7 separate regions of the Homo sapiens genome follow, and all the other regions are linked to region 4. Evidence: promoter capture Hi-C in 16 types of primary human blood cells and fetal thymus (Javierre and others, 2016). All regions are on one chromosome and are shown on one strand. Each heading gives the region's core, a stretch centred on a gene start or on the middle of the fragment in contact. The rest is flanking DNA. Distances are from core to core; before and after follow the strand shown. Region 1 overlaps MYL12B (myosin light chain 12B). Region 2 overlaps MYOM1 (myomesin 1). Region 3 overlaps MYL12A (myosin light chain 12A). Region 4 holds the start of EMILIN2 (elastin microfibril interfacer 2). Region 5 overlaps MYOM1 (myomesin 1). Region 6 has its middle 7.8 kb from the start of MYOM1. Region 7 overlaps MYOM1 (myomesin 1).

Region 1 (2,940 bases), core at 233-2,732, 420 kb before region 4:
AAAAAATTTAAAAAATTAGCCAGGTGTGGTGGCACATGCCTGTGGTCCCAGCTACTATTTGGGAGGCTGGGGTGGAAGGATCATTTGAGCCTGGGAGGTCGAGGCTGGTGAACCGTAATGGTGCCCCTAACCTCAGCCTGGGTGACAAAACGAGACACTGTCTCAAAAAATCAAATCAAATCAAATCAGAATCAGTCAATTGTATCATGCTACTTCTACAGTTAACCCAAAAATATACTATATTTAAACATTTTTGAAGTTTAGTCCGAGTTCTCTAAGAAGCTGATACCAAGACAGAATGAAACACCCAAGGATTTTATTAGGGGAAATGCCTGTGAGAAAGAATAGGGAGTTAGTTAGCCTGATAACTAGAAGAGCCATCACCATCTGATGGTGACACCCAAGAGAAGGAAACAGAAGGCAAGTTGATGGAAGAGAACAAAAAACAATTCACTAACTGGTCCCAATCAAAATATGTTAGAGCAGATATAGGCTCAATGTAGTAATACTATATTTTAAATTTTTTTCATACTTCATTTAAAAACAGTGGTACATTTGTATACGTATATGGTACCTATAAAAACTACACATACAGTATCAGCTGAAAAGTGAGGCAAAGTTGCATCAAAATAATCAATCTGAAGGGAACTCTGGCCCCCAAAGAAATTACCACCCTCTCTCCTTCCCTTCTGAAATAAGTATCTTGGCTTCCTCCACCTTCTCACTTCCCACTCACTTTTCAACCCACCACAATCTGGCTTTCTGTTCTCTACTGCAACTGCTTTAATTGCCAAATCTGGTCTAAATCTTCTTGGATCAGTCTACTGCATCACACTATTTTATCCCTCTTTTCTTTGGAGAGACAGCCACTGTTAGCCTGGTGCTCCATAACAGTAGAAATGAACTTTCCCAGGTGGAAAGGGTCCCAACCTTGAAGAACTTACGCTCTAATCAGGAAGACTGCTAAGCATTATATTGGAAAGACTGATTATGTAAAATGGTGTATTTGACTTACTCTAGCTCAGTTCTCCTATTTCTAAGATTTCCTCCTCCATTTTCCTCTTAGATGTTTATCTCCGTTTAAATATTCATGTTTCCCAGTATTCTAGCAGCACATGGTTTAAAGTTCTTTTCAGTCTTCATTCCTTGGATGATCTCATCAACTTTCACTGTTATGACAATGCCTGCACCTCCTAAATCCGAACCTCCAGGCCTGACCTTTCCTTGGAGCCTTGGACTCAAACATCCAAATGCCTGTGAAAGGCACCCATCTGGATATGCCACAGACACTCATAATCAACATGCTGAAAACTCAATTATCTCTCCCCTCCTGAACTTTACCATCTTTGTTTCCAATCATCTACCCAGCAGCCAGAAACCTAGGAGTCACCCTCCCCAATCCCTCTCCCTGATGAACCAAGCCCTGCCTCTGAGAAATATTTCTCAGAGTTGCTCATCTTCCTCATTCCTCTGTCATCACCCTAAACTGGATCCTCATTATCTCTTGTGTAAAATATCTCTATGGCCTCTTCACTATCCCCTTGCCTCTCGGCTCTCTCAAAACTACCCTTAGTTTTCTAGGCAGGGCTGTCTAAAACATGAATATGACCTCATCATTCCACTTTTTAAAATCTTCTTTGGCTCTCCACTTTCTAAAGGATAAAGTACCAAGTTCCTAAACATGGTGCATGAGTCTTCCTTTCCCTACTCTAGAATGACCTTTCCAGCCTCCTCTCTAGCCATTCCCTGCTTTGTACTTTTCCTTTAGCAACACCAAACTGCAAATGTCCCCAAGGTACCATGCCACATCTTATCTTGTATATCTTTGTTCCTGCTATTTTTCCAGCCCCAGTTGCCCTGATCTACTTCTCTGCCTTAGGAACAGAGAGAGAATTAAAGATCTACTCAACTTACAGCTACTACCATTTATTAAGTGACTCATGTGCTAGAAACATTATGTACATTAAATGAAACATGCCCACCTGCCAAATGAAGAAACTGAAGGTCAAAGATATTAAATAATCTTGCCCAAGGTCACCTAGTGGCAGAGCTAGGATTCAAATCCCATTTGTTACAGGTTGTTTCTCCTTGTATATTTTCTACTTCCTACTAAATACTCTTCTAATTATTTTGAGTTCAGCACAAAATTTTTTAAAACTTGCAATGCCACCAATATAATTCAACACTGATTTCTGAGCACCTACAATCCTCTAAATTCAAATCCTAGACAAACTGAGTTTTCAAATCAAGTCAATCTACACCAGAAAAACCAAGGTACAGAATAGAGTTGCAGTGAGTAAATGAAATGTGAGTGGCACTCCCTGGAACTGTGCAGTGTAGTAGCCCTGGTTGGGTTTAGTCAGGTGGCAACTATCAGTTATGGCTTTCCTTTGAAACTTTGATCTAGGACTGTCCAATTTATTAATGTTTAACCAAGAAGCATTCAAAAACAACAACAAACAAAAACACAAAAAACTAATCCAACCCTTACAGACAGAAAATAGCCATACAGAACACAGCACAAAATGAATGTAATAACCCTCAATAGCAGTAAAAACACTTCTTCCTTCCTCTGCAACACTGTTACTCTGATATTGCTATAAATTTCTAATACAAAGTGAACTACAGGATATAAGTAGTACTCAGAGGTTACATCAAAGGCAGGCATGTAGGAATTGATACAGCAGTCCCTCCTTATCTGAGGGGGATATATTCCAAGACCCCAGTGGATGCCTGAAACCAGGGATAGTACCCAACCCATACAGTTAGCCCTCCATATCCACAGGTTCCGCACTCACAGATTCAACCGAGAATCAATTGTTCATTTATTTGGAAAAATACAACAATAAAAATACAAATAAAAAATACACTATAACAACTATTTATATAGTATTTGCATTATATGAGGTATTATAAGCAATCTAGAGATGATTTAAAGTA
Region 2 (2,832 bases), core at 204-2,703, 300 kb before region 4:
GGTCTCGATCTCCTGACCTCGTGATCCGCCCGTCTCGGCCTCCCAAAGTGCTGGGATGACAGACGTGAGCCACCGCGCCCGGCCACCATCACCATTTTCAAAATAATGAACGTATTTGTCACCCCTAAATTTCCCCTGCCCATTCGTAATTCCTCCTTTTCATGTTTCCCCATCTCCAGCCATCACTGATCTGCTTTCTGCCACTGTAGTTTACATTGTCCACAATTGTAGATCAGTTGAATCATGTTCATTTTTGTCTGTTTTTCTTTACTCAGCATAATTATTTTGAGACTTATCTACGTTGGTGTGTGTATCAATTCGTTCCAAAGTATTTATCCATTCACTGTTGAAAGCTTCTATGAACATTCTTAACTGTTTCTGTGGACATATGCTTTCATTTATGTCTTGTGTAAATACCTAGGAGTTGAATGGATGTGTTCTGTGGTAGGTGTATGCTTAATTTTTAAAGGAACTGCCAGCTGTTTTCTGAAATGATTGTACCACGTTCCCTTCCCCTCCAGCCCTACGTGAGAGTTCCACTTGCTCCCGCATTGTCACTAGCACTTAGTGTGGCCAGTCTTTTCAATTTTAGCCATTCTAGTGGGTTCATAGTGGTATTTCTTTGTGGCTTTGATTTGCATTTTACTCATAATGTCGAGCATCTTTTCATGTGTTTATTTGCCAGTTTTTGTGACATTGGGCATCTTTGTCAAATCCAGGTATTTTTCCTGTTTTTTTCCCCCTGGAAATGTTATAGCATTAGTTTTTACTTTTCACTCTGTGATGCATTTAAAATTAATTTTTTCTACATTACAAGAAGTAAGGGCCTCAATTATTACTATCGTTCATACTTGCATATGGCTATTAAATTATTTCAGCAATATCTATTGAAAAGATTGTTCTTTACCCAACGAATTTGTATTGGCACCATTGTCAAATTCAATTGATTACATATGTGTGGATCAATTTCTGGAATCTCTATTGGTCAATTTTTTTCCCCTTCCATCAATACCATACTGTCTTTATTACTATAGCTTTTCTGAGCTTCATTTTTTCATATATAAATTTTAGCATCTTCAAATCAGTATAAGTCTTCTAATCTTGTGTTGGGTTTTTCCCCCCCAAAGTTGTTTCAGCTATTCTGTCTTTACATTTCTATAAAAATTTTAAAATCAGCTTATCAACTTCTACAAAAAACATGCTGGGATTTCAGCCGAACAGCATTGAGTCCTTTGATTTATGAACATAGCCTGTATCTCCATTCATTTAGCTTTGTTTTCATTTCTCTCACCTTAGTAGTAGTTTTAGTGAGCAGGTCCTGCACATTTTTATAGATATAATCTCATACATTCGTTTGCTCCTCTTTTATCAATTCCAATCAAAATAAGATTTGTTTGAATTGAAAATAAGTTACCTTCTTTACTGCCTTTCTGTTTTTGCACAAACTCTGACAAAAAGTTAGAGTATCTGACTTTTTATATATATATATTTCTATATAATATATATATTTATCTATAATATATAATATTTATATATAAATATATATATTTATCTATAATGTATAATATTTATATATAAGATATATATTTATATATAATATATAATATTTATATATAATATTTCTGATGATGCTGTAAATGGTATTGTTTTTTATTTTAATTTGTTTTTATGCTAGTATAAAGAAACACAATTGATTTTTGTATATTGATTTTGTGTCCTGCATCCTTGCTGAACTAATTTATTAATTCTCACAAACATTAGGGTTTTTTATGAAATTTATTATGGATTTTCTATTACAGGATTATGCCATCTATAAGTAAAGATAAATTAACTTCTTCCTTTTCAATCTGGATACCTTTTATTTCTTTTTCTTTCCTTATTGCTCCATCTAGAACCTTTAGTACAATGTTGAATAGAAGTGGTAGACTGGTCATCTTTGCCTTTTCCTGATGTCAGGGGGAAAGCATTCAGTCTTTCACCATTAAGTCTAACATTAAGTGTAGGTTTTGTATAGCTATCCTTTATCAAGTTGAGGAAAATTTCTTCTACTCCTGGTTTTCTGAGAGTTTATATTAGGAAAAAGTGTTGGATTTTGTCAAATGCTTTTCCTGTATCTATTGAGACGATCGTATGATTTTTATTTTTCCATTAACATGTTGAATTACATTGATTAATTTTAGATTATTAAACCGAAATAAAATAAATAACGCAAACTAAACCTCACAGTCCTGGGTTGAATGTCACTATGTTATGCTGTGTTATCCTTTTTATACATTGCTGGAGTTTATTTGCTAAAAATTTTTAAAGGAATTTTTGTGTCTATATTCATAAAAGATATTGGTCTGTGGTTTTTCCCAGTAAAGTCTTGGTTTGGTTTTGGTATTGGGGTACTGAGTGGAAAGTATTACCATTATTTTAATTTTTTGAAAGAGCTTGTGTTAACTTTTATTATTTTTTTTAATTAAACATTCAGTATAATTTACCAGCAGAGCCATCTAGGCCTGGAGGTTTGTTTTTTGGTTTGTTTGTTTTGTTTTGTTGTGGGAAGCTTTTATACTGCAAATTCAATTTTTAAAATAAATTTAGGACTATTCAGGTTATTTACTTTTTCTTGAGTAAAATTTAATAGTTTTCATCTTTCAAGAAACTTTTTCATTCATAAAGTTGTTCATATTTTCTTATTATCCTTTTAATACCTGCAGAATCTGTAGTGGTGTCACCTCTCTCATTCCTAATATTCGTGTTTTACTTCCTTTGTCCTGACCTGACTAGAAGTTTATCAACTTTATTGATGTTCCCAAAGAAACAGCTTTTGGTTTCATTGATTTTCTA
Region 3 (3,080 bases), core at 383-2,882, 400 kb before region 4:
TTGCACGCTGAGGGCGCTTCTTGGTCTTGGTCTTTGTTCTTTTGCTCGACATGGTGGTGGTTAAGTCCTAATTAGGAAAGGAAATACAATAAAAACCAAATCAACATCTAAGATTACTTAAGTTTGAATCAAAACAATGATTAACAAAAGTACACAGAACCAACTTTCCTGATATGTTTGAGCTACTCAGAAATGTGTCTTTAGAAGACACATCTCAACAAGATTACATATGTCCTGTACTGCTATATAACTAACAACAGCTGATAACCAAATCTGCTGATTTGATAACAATAAAAAACCAAGAAGCAAAAAAAATTAGGTACTTAGGAAACTCCCAAGTTCTATACTTCAGCAGTATAGGGGTGCTGAGGGATACTAATTCATCTTCAGTAGGTCCCTGCTTTGCAGCCTTAGCCTAAACTGGCTATTCCATAGTACGGTGGACAGAAAGGTGAAGAATAGTAAGAATGACTAACTGATGGAACAGGTCTTCATCTCCTAATCTCTATTGACAAATATTGTTAAAGCTTTCACTTTCAACTAACATTTTTTATTGTACCCTCACCACTAGGCAAAAGTAGTTCAAAAAAACTATTTGTTGAAAGGCTAATAGTAAAGTATAAAAAAACTGAAGGGAATTCATCTATAGTTTTTATAGACATTGCACTCTATCCAAACCAGTTTCTTGCATTACAGTCACACTAAATCACTGGAAGTATCTAAGATCTCTAAACAGAAATCAGAGCACAAGCTTTTAAAATAATTTTAAAAGTTTTAGAAAACATCTTAAACGTAGAAACTACCTTTGCTCTCTTACCTAAATTTATCCCGGTAAAATTTAAGTTAAAATTAAAAAGAATGTCTAATAATACCTAAAATAAAAAGGCAATTTTCAATACTCAATCTGTTAAAAACTACAAAAATTTGTTTCAAGTTAAAAATCTCAGTCATCAGACAATAAAATTCTACCATACCATCCTTCAGAGTTGCAGGGAAGATGGTAGTCTGCAAAACCGCTCAGCAGCAAAAGTAAGACACTGCATTGAGTTATATTCTTCCAAGCAGGTCTAAAATAGGCACTACTGATTTCACTCTGACCAGGATAACAATTTTAAAGCTTACGTTCTGAAAACAACATTTAGCTATGATCTGGCAAAACACTATGCCATTGGTCTAAAAATAAGTCTGTGGACTGCAAAGAATGAACTACCACCTAGATCTCAGCACTCCAAAGTGACCCTAAGAATGTGTTTCCGATGTGTTTAAAAAGTAATTTCTTACATTCTTTCCTTGATTATAACCATATCGTCCAGACTAAATACAATTATGGAATGATTAGAAAAGCTCTGCCTCAAATTTTTTAAAGCTAAATCTGTTTTCAGATTTTAATAGGAAATTCCACAAAGGATAGTCACAAATTCCAGCCCATCCAATACAGCACCGTATGGCAACTGGAATATATTGTTGAAAAGATATATCCTACATAGCACAGAAGTTATGATATATATGCTGTTCCCAAATTTCCTAGAATTCTTTAATCAACTTTTAGGATGCTGCCTTTCATGACTTAAAACTATTCATAAATGCATATTTTCATTCTATAACACCTTTGGGGGTAGTAAATCCCATTCACATCTAAACTACATGAGGATGTACTTTCCTCGTCTGTTATAAATGCTGTCTTTAAAAAATACAAAGAGATATAGAATATATTATTCCTCCAATTCTTAAATGTACGCAAGGACTTGGAGCAAGAGGTTGAAACCCAATGAGTGACACGTTTACCAGTCCATATCGCTTTAATATTTTAGGCATGTCACGCCTTTGCAAGCCAAAGCACATCTTTAAAAATAGTCTGTTTTGTGTGACAACATTGTCTTTCCCTAATGATGCAGAAATGTCAGCTATTTTAAGAACAAAGAAACTGATGAGGTCAAACGGCTGACACATCTGATTTTTTAATCTATTATATAAAATCTCATATAACTAAATTTACGAGGGTCCTCTAGATACATTTTCAAAATGCTTAGTTTTGGTTGTAAAGTAGTATGTTTTCTGAATTCTGATATATTTCCTATTCTTTTAATCACGCACTTTTTTGAATTGTAAATGTATTATAAAATAGATTTTTAAAGTAAAAAAGCTTTTTTTTTTTTTTGGGTCAGCACTGACAATGGCCTCATATAGAGCTCTTCTTCAGCACATTCAATACTTAATCTTATCAATTTTATTATGAAGTTAATTAAACTAATATGTATCAAACGTCATATTAATTATGTTGAATACTAGCTAAGAGTTAAGAAATGTAAGGCATGTGTCCTATCTTCAAGGAGCTTAATATAGTTGGGGAGGCAACTATAAAGAAATGAGATGATTGGTTCAACTTATGAAATGAGTCATAGTTTTCATTCCAGAAGTATGACTCTAAACTTAAAACGTGTGACAATAATGAAAAATAATTCCTAACATGGTACATAATTATCAAATGCTGTGAGTTCAGAAAAGATGTTTCTGAGTAATTAAGGGATTGGGGAGGAGGAAGACCTTGAAAAACCCCGTGTGGGATCATTTAGAAGCTACAAAGCATTGTTAGAATGAAGAGATTCGGCTGTTAGTCTCAATTCTAACAAATTAAGGTAGTTAATTCTATCAAAAACTGGCAGTGTAATGTTGAGGAAGTTACTACCTAGGCCTTTACTTTTTCAAGGAGGCTGGATTCTGATCTATGAGTTATTTTCCACCAGAAACCTTTCAGCGATAGGGAGTTTGGCTGCACAGTCACTGTTCCAAAATACAGAAACTGTGGGGTTTTTTCCCTACCAAACTAAAAGTGTGGGGAGAATAAATAATGGTGGAGGGAGTCAAATCAGGAACAGTGCTATGATCTCAAGGAGCAGATCATTTCTGATATTGTCAGGGTCCTCTTTGCTGATTCTAGTTTGTTGTTCATTTTACTTTCCTTCAAACAATTTAGACTGTCACTCTTCATGTAATAAGCCTTCAGCAAATGCACAACTCTCATCGAAGTTTAGAAAACTAGGGTATACCCCTTAATCTAAAAAAGTTGAAATTGCTTTATT
Region 4 (2,886 bases), core at 84-2,583:
TCCTATACGGAATAGTCTTTAGCAGTATACATTTTGGAATCTTCTGTGTGCCCCAGAACACACAATATGGATCCAATTAGATTCAGCTGCCTTATGTTACAAACAAACATTGAAAGGGAGAAAACAGAAGTGGGAGTGGGAGCTTTGTTCATCCTCTCCTACGCCCCCGCGACCCCACACTCCCGAGGCGCGCGCATCCTCCCCACTCACTCGGGCAGCACCCACTCCCTAAATAGCCCAGCGTGGCCGGTGCCCCGCGAGCGCTCGGAGCGCTTTTCCGCTGCGGGCTTTTCACCGGATCTGGAAGGGATTTACCGGAGGGACTGGAGCCCAGCGCAGCAACCCCACCCCACCCCCACCGCCCCGGCCCGGGCGCGCCCCGCCCGCTCCCCGGCTCCAGGACTTACACCAGCGCCGACGGACAGGGCATCTGGTTCCAGGCACAGTTGTACTGAGCCTGAATAAAACTCTCACTTCCCTCCAGCACGGAGCAGCTCACATTCTTGTTCACGATGTAGGCGCACCAGTTCCTGGGGTGCAGGAGAGAGAGGGAGAGGGGCACGGGGTAAACCCGGAGAACAATGAGGCCAGGGGAGAGGGGACTGCGGCACCAGACCGAGCGAGGGTCGGGGGGGCCCGTCGCCCTCTGCGGAGGCGGGAGCTTCACCGAGCAGACGCCGGAGGGTGCCCGGGTGCGCCTCTGGAGAGCGCGCGCCTGGACCCGACCAAGACGGGAAAGAAAAGCACCCATGGTCCCAGGGGCTCATGGAATTCCTGGGAGTCGTTTTCGGATCGCCCGGGTCTGCGGGACGCTCTCTGCGCCCACGCCCCCGGAGTCAGCTCTGCCTGAGGCGCCGGCTGCGGAGCGCGCGGTCCCCCGCAGAGGGAGCCGCCCGGGGAAGTCCAAGGGAGGCCCCCGGCTGCCGCTCGTCGTCTTTGGCAGGGCAGCTCTGGGGCTCAACTGGGGGCCGGGGAGGGGTAGGCGGTTTGGGGCCAGCCAAGGGGCGCGCACTTACTTGTTCCTGGCGCTGGGCCGCGCGGGATACCCGGGCTGCGGGCCGGCGTGGCACAGCCCCGCGCCAACCAGGGCCAGCAGCGCCAGCGCCCAGCGCCAGGGCACGCGGGGCCAGGGCCGTCTGGGCTGCCACATCCCGCGCGCAGCGGGCGCGCCCCGCCTGCCCGGGTCCGGAGCGCGGCGGATCGGGGCACCGGCCACAAGGCTGCCGGCGGCCAGGGCGCCGCCCGCGAAGGCAAGAGGCTCGGGCGCTTCGCGGCGCTCCAACCAGTGCTCCGCGGCCGCCCCCTCCGGCTTCTCGTTCCTACTTCTCCTTCTGCAGCCCCGTGCGCCCTGCGCTTCTCCCCGGTCCCTCAATGACGCACAGGTCCCCCCGGGTGCCGCCCTCTTTATTTCACTTCCCTCTCCGAAACGTGACTCTCCCCCCACCAAGTCTCCCCGTCTCCAGTCCCTTCGCTTCTCGGCAGGGGGCTCGGGGTGGAGGGGCGAAAGGGTTTGGGATAAGGGTCTACGTTACAGCATTTCCAATGACTCATTCCTTTGGTCTCTTCCCAGATGCCGAGCGACTCCGCCTCCCACCTTCCGACAGGCTCGCTCCCGGCCCCCCGGGACGCGGCCGCCGTCGGCGAGTCTGGCCGTCCTCGCGTCGTGCCTGGGTGCCAGCCTCCCGGGGCGAATGAGGGACATGTTTATCAGTCCCGCGGGGAGAGGAGTGGGGGCTCGACTCGAATTTCCTCCTCGGGCAAGACAGGGCCGTTCCCCCACCAGCTCCATGGACCTAGAGAGTCCAGGAGGAAACGAACGCTGGTTCTTTCTTTGCCCAACTCTGCCTTAGGCACCATCTGACAGTTTCCGAGGCCACGCGGGGGGCGGCAGGACAGGACAAGCCACAGCCCCGCCAATTCCCAGAGGCTGCTGCAGCTCAGCGTCCGGCTCTATCACTTACTGCAATTCTCCTCCAATTCTTGAAAGGTGATCTCACAGCCTCTGCTTCTGAGGTCCCACTGTGAACTTTCTTTTTCTATTGAAACTAAGGCATTTACTCACGTTTGCTTCTTAACAGTTCAGGCACTGCTAGACATCCGTCTTAAACTTTCTTGTATGTTTTCTGCCTGTTGTTGAGTTACACTAATCTCTACCGATGTCTTTTTGGGATGAAGTACCAGAATGTTAAGTAAAATCACCACCCAAGTGTTGTATTCTAAGGGGTGTTGGAGAGAGCTGTGTGTTTGAGATGACCTGCTGCATCTAATCAATGTACAGGGTCGTGAGTGGCGTGGTTACCAGACTCCACAGATAAAACTGTGGCCTCTGTGAGCTAACCAGACGCTGTTGGCCATGACTCGTTAAGTGAATAAAGCTTTGCTATGGGCCAGGCGGGGTGGCTCACGCCTGTAATCCCAGCACTTTGGGAGGTCGAGGCGGGTGGATCACCTGACGTCGGGAGTTCAAGACCAGCCTGACCAACATGGAGAAACCCCGTCTCTACTAAAAGTACAAAAAAAAAAAAAAAATTTGCCGGGCACGGTGGCACATGCCTGTAATCCCAGCTACTTGGGAGGCTGAGGCAGGAGAATCGCTTGAACCAGAGAGATGGAGGTTGCAGTGAGCCGGGATCTCACCACTGCACTCCAGCCTGGGCAAAAAGAGTGAAAATCTGTCGCAAAAAATAAAAAATAAAAACGTTTGCTATGTTCCTACTTTACTAAATGAAGCCATTGGTCTATTTTGTTTCTAATATTCTTTGATGGTGTTGTTGGACCTTTTGATTTGCAGATGAAAGAAAGAGAAGTCCCTAAGTAGAAACTACAAGGGCCAAGCAGAACATTATACCATGTAAGGACATCATCTGTCCCTGGACTCTTAAGCGG
Region 5 (2,962 bases), core at 135-2,634, 350 kb before region 4:
AAATTGACCATTTTATCATATGAAATATTCCTCTTTGTCTCTAATAATATTTCTTGATGTAAAGTATATTATGTTTTATATTACTATAGCTTACCATTTGCATGGTATATATTTTTTATCCTTTTACTAACAAATGTGTCTTTAAATTTAGGGTGTGCCTCTTGTGGCAGCATATAAGTGGATTAGTTGAATCTGTATTTTTCCATTCAGTCTGACAGCCTCTGCCTGTTCCTTGGAGTTTTTTATTCCATTTACGTTTGCTAAAATTACTGATATGGTTGTATTTATGTCTGCCACTTTTTAAAGTATATCTCATTATCTCTTTAATTACTCCTTTATTGCCTTATTTTGTATTAAATGGACCTTTTTAGTGTATTGTTTTAATTCTTTTGTTTCTTGACTATATTCTTTGAGCTATTTTCCTAGGGATTGCCTTAGGAATTACAATATACATATTAACTTATTTCTATCTACTTCAGATAATATATACTCACTGAATACCAGTAAACATAGAAACTTTCCTCTAATATAGCTTCATTTCCTTCTCCCTCCTTTGCACTGTTGTCAAGTATATTACAACTATGAATGTTGTAAACCCAACAACACAATGCAATAAGTATTTTATACAATATTATATCTTTTAAAGAATTTAAGAGAAGCCTGGGTGCAGTGGCTTACATGTGCAATTCCAGCACTTTCAGAGGCCGAGGTGGGTGACTCACTTGAGCTCAAGAGTTTGAGACCAGCCTGGGCAGCATGGTGAAATCCCAGTTCTACAAAAAATACAGAAATTAGCTGGGCATGGTGATGTGTGCCTGTAGTCCCAACTACTTGAGAGGCTGAGGTGGGAGGATGGCTTGAGCCCGGGAGATCGAGGTTATAGTTATGACCACGCCATTGCACTCCAGCCTGGGTGACAGAGCAAGACTCTGTCTCAAAAAAAAAAAAAAGAATTTAATAGAATATATATGTAAAAATTTACATACATATATGTGTATAAGCTTATATACGTATAAATTTATATACATATGTGTGTATAAACTTATATACATATATGTGCATGTACATGTGTGTATGTGTGTATGTACACACACTGTCTTTTGTATTTACCCAATTATTTACTGTCTGGTTGTTCTCCATCTTTTCGTGTGGGTTTAAATTACAATTAAATTACCTTTAGTCTTTTTTTCTTTTTTTTTTTGAGACGGAGTCTCACTCTGTCGCCAGGGCTGGAGTGCAGTGTGGCACGATCTTGGCTCACTGCAAGCTCTGCCTCCCAGGTTCAAGCAATTCTCCTGCCTCAGCCTCCTGAGTAGCTGGGATTACAGGAGTGCACCACCATGCCCGGCTAATTTTTGTATTTTTAGTAGAGGCAGGGTTCCACCATGTTGGACAGGCTGGTCTCAAACTCCTGACCTCAAGTGATGCACCCCCTTCAGCCTCCCAAAGTGCTAGGATTACAGGCATGAGCCACTGCGCCCGGCCAGATATAGAATTCTTGATTAACATTGTTTTTCAGCACTTAAATATGTCATGTCGGTGCCATTTTTCCTGATGAGAAGTCTACCATTAACAGTATTATTGTTCCCCTGTGTGTAAAGAATCATTTTACTCTTGATGCTTTCAAGGTTTCTCTCTGGCTTTGACTTTCAACAGTTTGACTTCGATATTTCCAGGTCTAAGTATCTTTTTCTGTGTTATTCTACTTGGGTTTTTTGAGCATCTTGGATCCATAGATTAATATTTTCATCAAATTTTGGAAGCTTTAGTCTATTATTTCTTCAAATATATTTTCCTGCCCTTTCTCTCTCTCTTCCCTTTCTGGCACTGCCATTACTCATATGTTAGTATGTTTGACATTGTCTCACACGTTTCTGAGGCTCTTTTAATTTTTCTTTATTCTTTTATCTCTCTTTGCTTTAGAATGGGTAATTTCTATTTTCAACTTTATTGATTATTTCTTCCCTTATCTAACATCTGCTGTTGAGTCCCTCTAAGAAATTTTCATTTGTTATCGTACTTTTTAACTCCAGAGTGTCCTTTGATTTTATTTTATAATTTATATTTCTTTGTTGACATTCTCTATTTGTTGAGTCACTGTTGTAATACATTCCTTTAACTCTTTAAACATGGTTTCCTTCAGTTTTTGAACATATTTATAATTGCTGCTTTGAAGTCTTTGTCTGCTAAACCCAACATCAAGGACAACCCAGAGACAATTTTTGCTTACTACTATTTTCCCATTGGTGTGGGTTACATTTTCCTATTTCTTGGCATGTCTCATAACTTTTATTGTTGTTAAAAATGGGACATGTCAGATAATATATTGTTACAATTCTGAATTCTGAATTTTCCTCAGAGTGTGTTGTTGCTGTATTTTGGTTTTGTTTTTTGTTTTTTGGGTTTTTTTGTTTTTGTTTTTGTTTTTGTTTTCAGCTGGAGTCTCACTCTGTTGCCCAGTCTGGAGTGCAGTGGTGTGATCTCAGTTTTGTTTAATAATAATTTGGCTGGACATGCTTGTAGAATCTCCTTAACTGCTGTGTGGCTGCAGGTGTCTCTGCTCAGCTTTGTTTTGTTTTTTAAATTCTTGTTCTCATTTTTAAGCCGGAATTCCTAGGAATCACACTGTGTTTGCATAGATTAATGGTGGTCAGACATTGTGCCCAAACAGCTCAAGACAGTAAATCTTCCACCCTCTGGCAGTAGATCTGAGTGTGTGTTAGGGAGCACAGCTAAAGTGTGCAGGTAATTTTTTTTTTTTTGAGACGGAGTCTCACTCTGTCACCCAGGCTGGAGTGCAGTGGCACGATCTCAGCTCGCTGCAACCTCCACCTCCCGGGTTCAAGTGATTCTCCTGCCTCAGCCTCTAGAGTAGCTGGGACTATAGGCATGTGCCACCATGCCTAGCTAATTTTTGTATTTTTAGTAGAGACAGGGTTTCACCATGTTGACCAGGATGGTC
Region 6 (2,726 bases), core at 173-2,672, 380 kb before region 4:
TTCCAGCTTCTAGTCCTGGTGAATGACTGGAAATTTCCAGGTGCTCAACACTTAGAGACCAGGTAACAAATTATAGCAGAGCAATACAACACATTCATTCATTGTTATTGAAAGGACAACTGCGGACAGGGTAGGACATTGGTGAGAACCAAGTGCAATACTGGTGCATCCAGTATCCAGATGAAACTCAAAAACATCTTGCCAAGTGAAAGAAACCAGACACAAATGACTACATATGGTAGGATTCCATTTGTGTGAAATTTCTAGAAAAAGCTGAACTGTAGAGACAGAGGTCAGTGGTGGCCTCGGTCACGCGCGGGACCCAGGATTAACTGCAGACAAGCCTGAGGAAACTTTTCTGGGTGATGGAAGTGTTTTAAAACTGGATTTTGGTGATGGTTGCACAATGTAAAAATTGACTAAAACTCCCTGAACTTTACTCTTAAAATGGATTAATTTATGGTGTGTCAATTTTATTGCTATAAACTGTTAAAAGGAAATTCGAAATGAATTGAAACTGAAAACTCAGATCTGCTGATCTTTATTCTGGTTCTTACTTTTAAAGGAAAAAAAAAACCATATGATTTTTGTAAAAGTAACACACAGTCATTGTCGGGAGACAGTTCTCCGCGGGCTTCTTGTGTTTCGGCACATGTTGCAAGCGAAGATCTGGCTCTCCGTTGTTCCAGCCTGTTTCTGCAGGACTGTTCATATAGTGAACAGCCTTTGAAGACAGAGTAAGTGTCTCCAGCCACAGCAAAAGGCAGACACGCTTACTATCCAGTGTAACAAGAATATCTCCCTCTGAAGCAAAGGGCAGGTATGCTGAATGCTCATGATGAAATATTCAGGTGCTCTAAAGTCAAGATTCTTCTTCTGTAATGCAGCCCACTGTGACTGCAGGTGTCACCTGGTCTTCATCACGTTGTCCTTTGGGAACATGGGGATTGGGGGCTGGCAAACCAGTGAAGAATATGCTGACACTTGGCCACTGCTCTTGCTGTCAGGAGTAAAGCTCTTTGTCTTCTTGTGTCTTCTGTCAACACTCATGAAACTGTAGCAGGATCACTTTTTAGTTTGCAAGTAGGGTAAAATCTCTGACTCCTGCGTTCCTTTTTTTAAAAAATTGTGGTAAAATATACACAACATTAAATTTACCATTTTAGCCATTTTAGGGATACAGTTCAGTGGCAGTAAGTACATTTACACTGTTGTATAACTATCGCCATTACACATCTCTACAGCTTTTTAAAAATTAATTAATTTTTTTTTGAGATGGAGTCTCGTACGGCCCCCTGGCCTAGAGTGCAGTGGCTCGATGGCTCACTGCAACCTCCGCCTGCTGGGTTCAAGCGATTCTCCTGCCTCAGCCTCCCAAGTAGCTGGGATTACAGGTGCCTGCCACCATACCCAGCTAATTTTTTTGTATTTTTAGTAAAAGCAGGGTTTCACCATGTTGGCCAGGCTGGTCTCAAACTCCTGACCTTGTGACTCGCCCACCTCGGTCTCCCAAAGTGTTGGGATTACAGGTGTGAGCCACCGCGCCCGGCTCACATTGCTCTAGAGCTTTTTAATCATCCCATGTTGAAACTCTACCCATTAAGCTATACTCCTCATTACCCCCTTTCCCCAGCCCCTGGCAACCACTGTTCTGCTTTCTCTATAAACTCGACTACTCTAGGTACCTCATATAAGTGGAATCATACACTATTTGTCCTTGTGTGACTGGCTTATTTCACTTTGCATAATGTCTTCAGGGTTCATCCATGTTGTAGTGTGTGTCAGGATTTCACTCCTTTTTAAGGCTGAATAATATTCCATTGTATGTATATACCTTCACAGTTCTTGATGCTAATTATATCTTAAAATCAAGTAAAAAAAATACAAACAAGAAAGTTAAAAAAAAACAAAAGAAAGAGAAAGCATCTCATCATTTGGAAGTCATTATCATACCAGATATCTATTTATGAATAGACAGAAAAACAGGTAGAGACAAAAAATGTTAGAAAATGGGCTTTGGGGTCTTGCTTTCTAATACTCACCTCCAGTTCCCTGGCCTGGACTATGCGTGCAGGCAGCTTTCTGGCTTAGGGGCTTGTCCCTCTCCCAGAATCTACCCACCAGCTCCTGAGCCTCACACGCAGGTTAAGAGGGGCTCACAGCAGTTGTCCTCCCCGCAGCTGAACAGCTGATCCCTGGCCACACTGACTCCTAGCCCTTGTTTTTTCCCATCTCTAAGGAGTCCCTATGTCCTGAGGAGTTGTCCTTTGCCACATTTCCCAGTTTTCCTCATTCAGTAATTCTTTATTAAATGCCTGTTGTGGGTCAGGAGCTTTGCTGGGTACTGGGAGCACCTAGCCATAGAGATCCCGCTCCTACCAGTGAGTACTCATTGTGCAGAGACAGAAAAGTAAACACGTAAATACCACACGAAAAACTTCCCATCCTAGTGGAAGTAGGGAAGTCTCCCGGAAGGAGATGGCACGGGGTGTTGAAGGAGCGGGGTGAAGGAAGTGAGGAAGTGTGCGCGTGTTGGCAGGGCTGAGAGGAGCACCAGGTGTGAGGGAACCGGGGTGCTGGAGTCCTGGAGTTTGAGGGCTTGCAAGGAATTACCCGTGGTTGAAACTCAGGAGGCAGGCAGGGGAATGGAGAGGGGCGGAGCTGGAGAATTATGGAGGCTCATAGGGTGAAGATGCCCTCGTGCCATGCTGAGGAGGCCACCTGGG
Region 7 (2,716 bases), core at 187-2,686, 340 kb before region 4:
AACGAAAAATGATTCACTGGAGTGCTAATTGACTTTGCACCACTGGTACAGAGCATGAAATCTTCAATAAGCAGCCTTTCCCTTGAAGACCTGGGAACCCGCAGCCCAAGCAACAACCAAGATTGTTGGTGATAACATTGCTGGCATTTATACCTTTTTGGTATCCAATTGCAGCTTCCTGGGCCTGACACTGAGGAGAAGTACAAAGGGAATATTGAGAATGCCCTTCCTGAATATCAGCAGGTTTATTAAAGGAGTAAATTTGTGATGATGCTTCATATAATCACACTGCCTCCACTCATAGCAGTTATGTCCTTAGCCACATCTTTCAAAGGCACGTGTGGCGGGCCTGTCTCCGGCAGAGCCCTTTCCAAAGAGGGTTTGGCTGGACACCAACCAACCAGTTTCCACTGGACACCTTCACTCATGGGAGTTCCTGAGGCCTAACAAATGATACAAGCACTCAGCAGCCGCTCTCCAACCAATCCCACATTACTAACCAAATCTATTCATGTGGAACCTAGAGGTTACCAGAGAGCACTGAATAAGGGCACACACATCCCTCATTAAAGTCAGGTGCAGAGACAGGATGCAGTACCGTCCTATTCCCAACTCGCTCTGACAGCAGCAGGGAGCCTGTCTAAGCACTGGCCTCGGTAGAAAAGTTAGTTACAGGCCGGGCGTGGTGGCCCACGCCTGTAATCCCAGCACTTTGGGAGGCCGAGTCGGGCGGATGACCTGAGGTCGGGAGTCCGAGACCAGCCTAACCAACATGGAGAGACCCTGTCTCTACTAAAAATACAAAATTAGCCGGGTGTGGTGGAGCATGCCTGTAATCCCAGCTACTGGGGAGGCTGAGGCAGGAGAATCGATGGAACGCGGAAGGCGGAGGTTGCGGTGAGCTGAGATCACGCCACTGCACTCCAGGCAGCCTGGGCAACAAGAGCGAAACTCTGTCTCAAAAAAAAAAAAAAAAAAAAAAAAAAAAAGAAGAAAGAAAAGTTAGTTGCAGAGGATGCTGCTGCACCCCTACCGTGAAGCTGGCCATCCTGCAGGAGGACTCTGTCGACATAGAAGGGAAAATACATATGTAGTGAAAAAAATTAAAGTTTTAAAATTTAATAGGGTACATTTATGTAATAACTTGTATAATAAGAGTCTTTCTGTTTAAAGGGGGAAGAAAAAAGCATTTATGTTTGTTTTTGTTTTATTTGCATAATGAAATTCTGGAAGGATATGGAAGAACCCAAGAAAAGCTATTGACCCTGAGGGGGAGCCTTGTCAAAGGGACAAAAGTTCTAGGAAGTTACCAGGAAGGGTTCACTGTGCACCCTTAGTTCTTTCTGGTTCTTGAACCATGTAAACGTATTACCTAGTCAGATTTTAAACATTATGTGAAATAGTGGAGAAGGAAAAAGTTTTCTTTAAAAGGAGAGAATAGTGTTAATTGTATACTTTTTATTATTATTATAATACTTTAAGTTCTAGGGTACATGTGCACAACGTGCAGGTTTGTTACATATGTATACATGTGCCATGTTGGTGTACTGCACCCATCAACTCGTCATTTACATTAGGTATATCTCCCAATGCTATCCCTCCCCCTCCCCTCACCTCATGACAGGCATACTTTTTAAAGAGCAGGATTCATTTGGGTTTCTGGCCTGAAGCCTAGATTGAATTTGTCCATGGAAATCTTGATTGTAGCCTGCAGGAAGATCAGGAAAACTCATTGGAGCAATGTGTTGGTATCAGTGTGTACCTGTCATTCACTCACTCGGCACTCATGTTTTCATATCTATATGTTGGACACTGGACTAGATCCTCAAGCAAAGCATTTATAATACATGTTTAAAATTCTTCAGTTTCAGCCAGGCGCGAGGGCTCACGCCTGTAATCCCAGCTCTTTAGGAGGCCGAGTCGGGCGGATTACCTGAGGTCCAGAGTTCGAGACCAGCCTGGCCAACATGGTGAAACTCCATCTGTACTAAAAGTACAAAAATTAGCCGGGTGTGGTGGCAGGAACCTGTAGTACCAGCTACACAGGAGGCTGAGGCAGGAGAATTGCTTGAATCTGGGAGGTGGAAGTTGCAGTGAGTGAGATCGCACCACTGCGCTACAGCCTGGGGGACAGAGCAAGACCCTGTCTCAAAAAAAAAAAAAAAAAAAATTATTCAGTTTCACCCAAAGGTCGTTGTCAAATAGATACTTAAAGAAATGTGTCATTAAGCCCATTATAATAATTCAAAACCTAGGAATAAAATAGTTACAAAGGCAGAGATTCAGAAAACTCTTCTATTCTCACAAATTATGAGGGTTTGTAAATTTCATAATAGAATCATGCATTGAGTTTATTTTCAAGATTAGAATTATTAATCACATATTCAAATTTAGCAGTTACTACCATATTATCATAGAAAAAACAGCTTATATTTAAAATGGTTAACACAAATTATTTACAATTTACAACAGTTTTCCAACATAAGGATTTGGAGTTTTACTTTGGATTTTTCTTATTTACTTAATTCCAAAATCTATCCCAATGGGATCTCTCTCTCTCTCTCAATCTCTCTCAGATAGTTTTTAAAGTGGGTCTAGAGTGATTTACTCAAAACAGGTTGGATTATAAGCAGCAATCTCATTTGTGGTGAGATTCAGTATATTAAAGATCATCTTTGGCCGGGCGTGGTGGTTCATGCCTGTAATCCCAGCACTT

What was found. Contacts are between HindIII fragments. The CHiCAGO score rates a contact against its expected background, and 5 or more counts as called.
Region 1: a contact is called between a fragment that was not itself captured here and the fragment with the promoter of EMILIN2 in region 4, in 4 of 17 cell types (monocytes, M1 macrophages, M0 macrophages and 1 more). The highest score is 9.4, in monocytes.
Region 2: a contact is called between a fragment that was not itself captured here and the fragment with the promoter of EMILIN2 in region 4, in 6 of 17 cell types (total CD8 T cells, total CD4 T cells, non-activated CD4 T cells and 3 more). The highest score is 7.2, in total CD8 T cells.
Region 3: a contact is called between a fragment that was not itself captured here and the fragment with the promoter of EMILIN2 in region 4, in 5 of 17 cell types (monocytes, M0 macrophages, M2 macrophages and 2 more). The highest score is 13.9, in monocytes.
Region 5: a contact is called between a fragment that was not itself captured here and the fragment with the promoter of EMILIN2 in region 4, in 8 of 17 cell types (total CD8 T cells, activated CD4 T cells, naive CD4 T cells and 5 more). The highest score is 6.7, in total CD8 T cells.
Region 6: a contact is called between a fragment that was not itself captured here and the fragment with the promoter of EMILIN2 in region 4, in 2 of 17 cell types (monocytes and activated CD4 T cells). The highest score is 5.7, in monocytes.
Region 7: a contact is called between a fragment that was not itself captured here and the fragment with the promoter of EMILIN2 in region 4, in 6 of 17 cell types (monocytes, activated CD4 T cells, non-activated CD4 T cells and 3 more). The highest score is 7.6, in monocytes.

What each region holds. Positions count from the first base shown.
Region 1 is chr18:3,267,913-3,270,852 of GRCh38, reverse strand. The region is part of intron 1 of MYL12B (myosin light chain 12B); the gene reads right to left. Among named protein-coding and RNA genes, the nearest start is that of MYL12-AS1, 7.0 kb to the right of the region's middle. The HindIII fragment of the contact is 4,015 bases long and covers 1-2,940 here.
Region 2 is chr18:3,145,818-3,148,649 of GRCh38, reverse strand. All of the region lies in intron 13 of MYOM1 (myomesin 1), which reads left to right. Among named protein-coding and RNA genes, the nearest start is that of MYOM1, 73 kb to the left of the region's middle. The HindIII fragment of the contact is 2,195 bases long and covers 356-2,550 here.
Region 3 is chr18:3,250,220-3,253,299 of GRCh38, reverse strand. It overlaps MYL12A (myosin light chain 12A), which reads right to left. Exons shown (of 4, transcript NM_006471.4): 2 at 1-67. The coding sequence starts at 52. Among named protein-coding and RNA genes, the nearest start is that of MYL12A, 4.0 kb to the right of the region's middle. The HindIII fragment of the contact is 1,026 bases long and covers 1,120-2,145 here.
Region 4 is chr18:2,845,453-2,848,338 of GRCh38, reverse strand. It overlaps EMILIN2 (elastin microfibril interfacer 2), which reads right to left and starts at 1,333. Exons shown (of 8, transcript NM_032048.3): 1 at 1,017-1,333; 2 at 408-530. The coding sequence starts at 1,150. RefSeq lists silencers at 356-445, 1,066-1,115. The HindIII fragment of the contact is 11,570 bases long and covers 1-2,377 here.
Region 5 is chr18:3,199,640-3,202,601 of GRCh38, reverse strand. The region is part of intron 2 of MYOM1 (myomesin 1); the gene reads left to right. Among named protein-coding and RNA genes, the nearest start is that of MYOM1, 19 kb to the left of the region's middle. The HindIII fragment of the contact is 762 bases long and covers 1,004-1,765 here.
Region 6 is chr18:3,226,362-3,229,087 of GRCh38, reverse strand. It overlaps a transcript of MYOM1 not described here. Among named protein-coding and RNA genes, the nearest start is that of MYOM1, 7.8 kb to the right of the region's middle. The HindIII fragment of the contact is 8,579 bases long and covers 1-2,726 here.
Region 7 is chr18:3,181,187-3,183,902 of GRCh38, reverse strand. The region is part of intron 5 of MYOM1 (myomesin 1); the gene reads left to right. Among named protein-coding and RNA genes, the nearest start is that of MYOM1, 37 kb to the left of the region's middle. The HindIII fragment of the contact is 3,663 bases long and covers 1-2,716 here.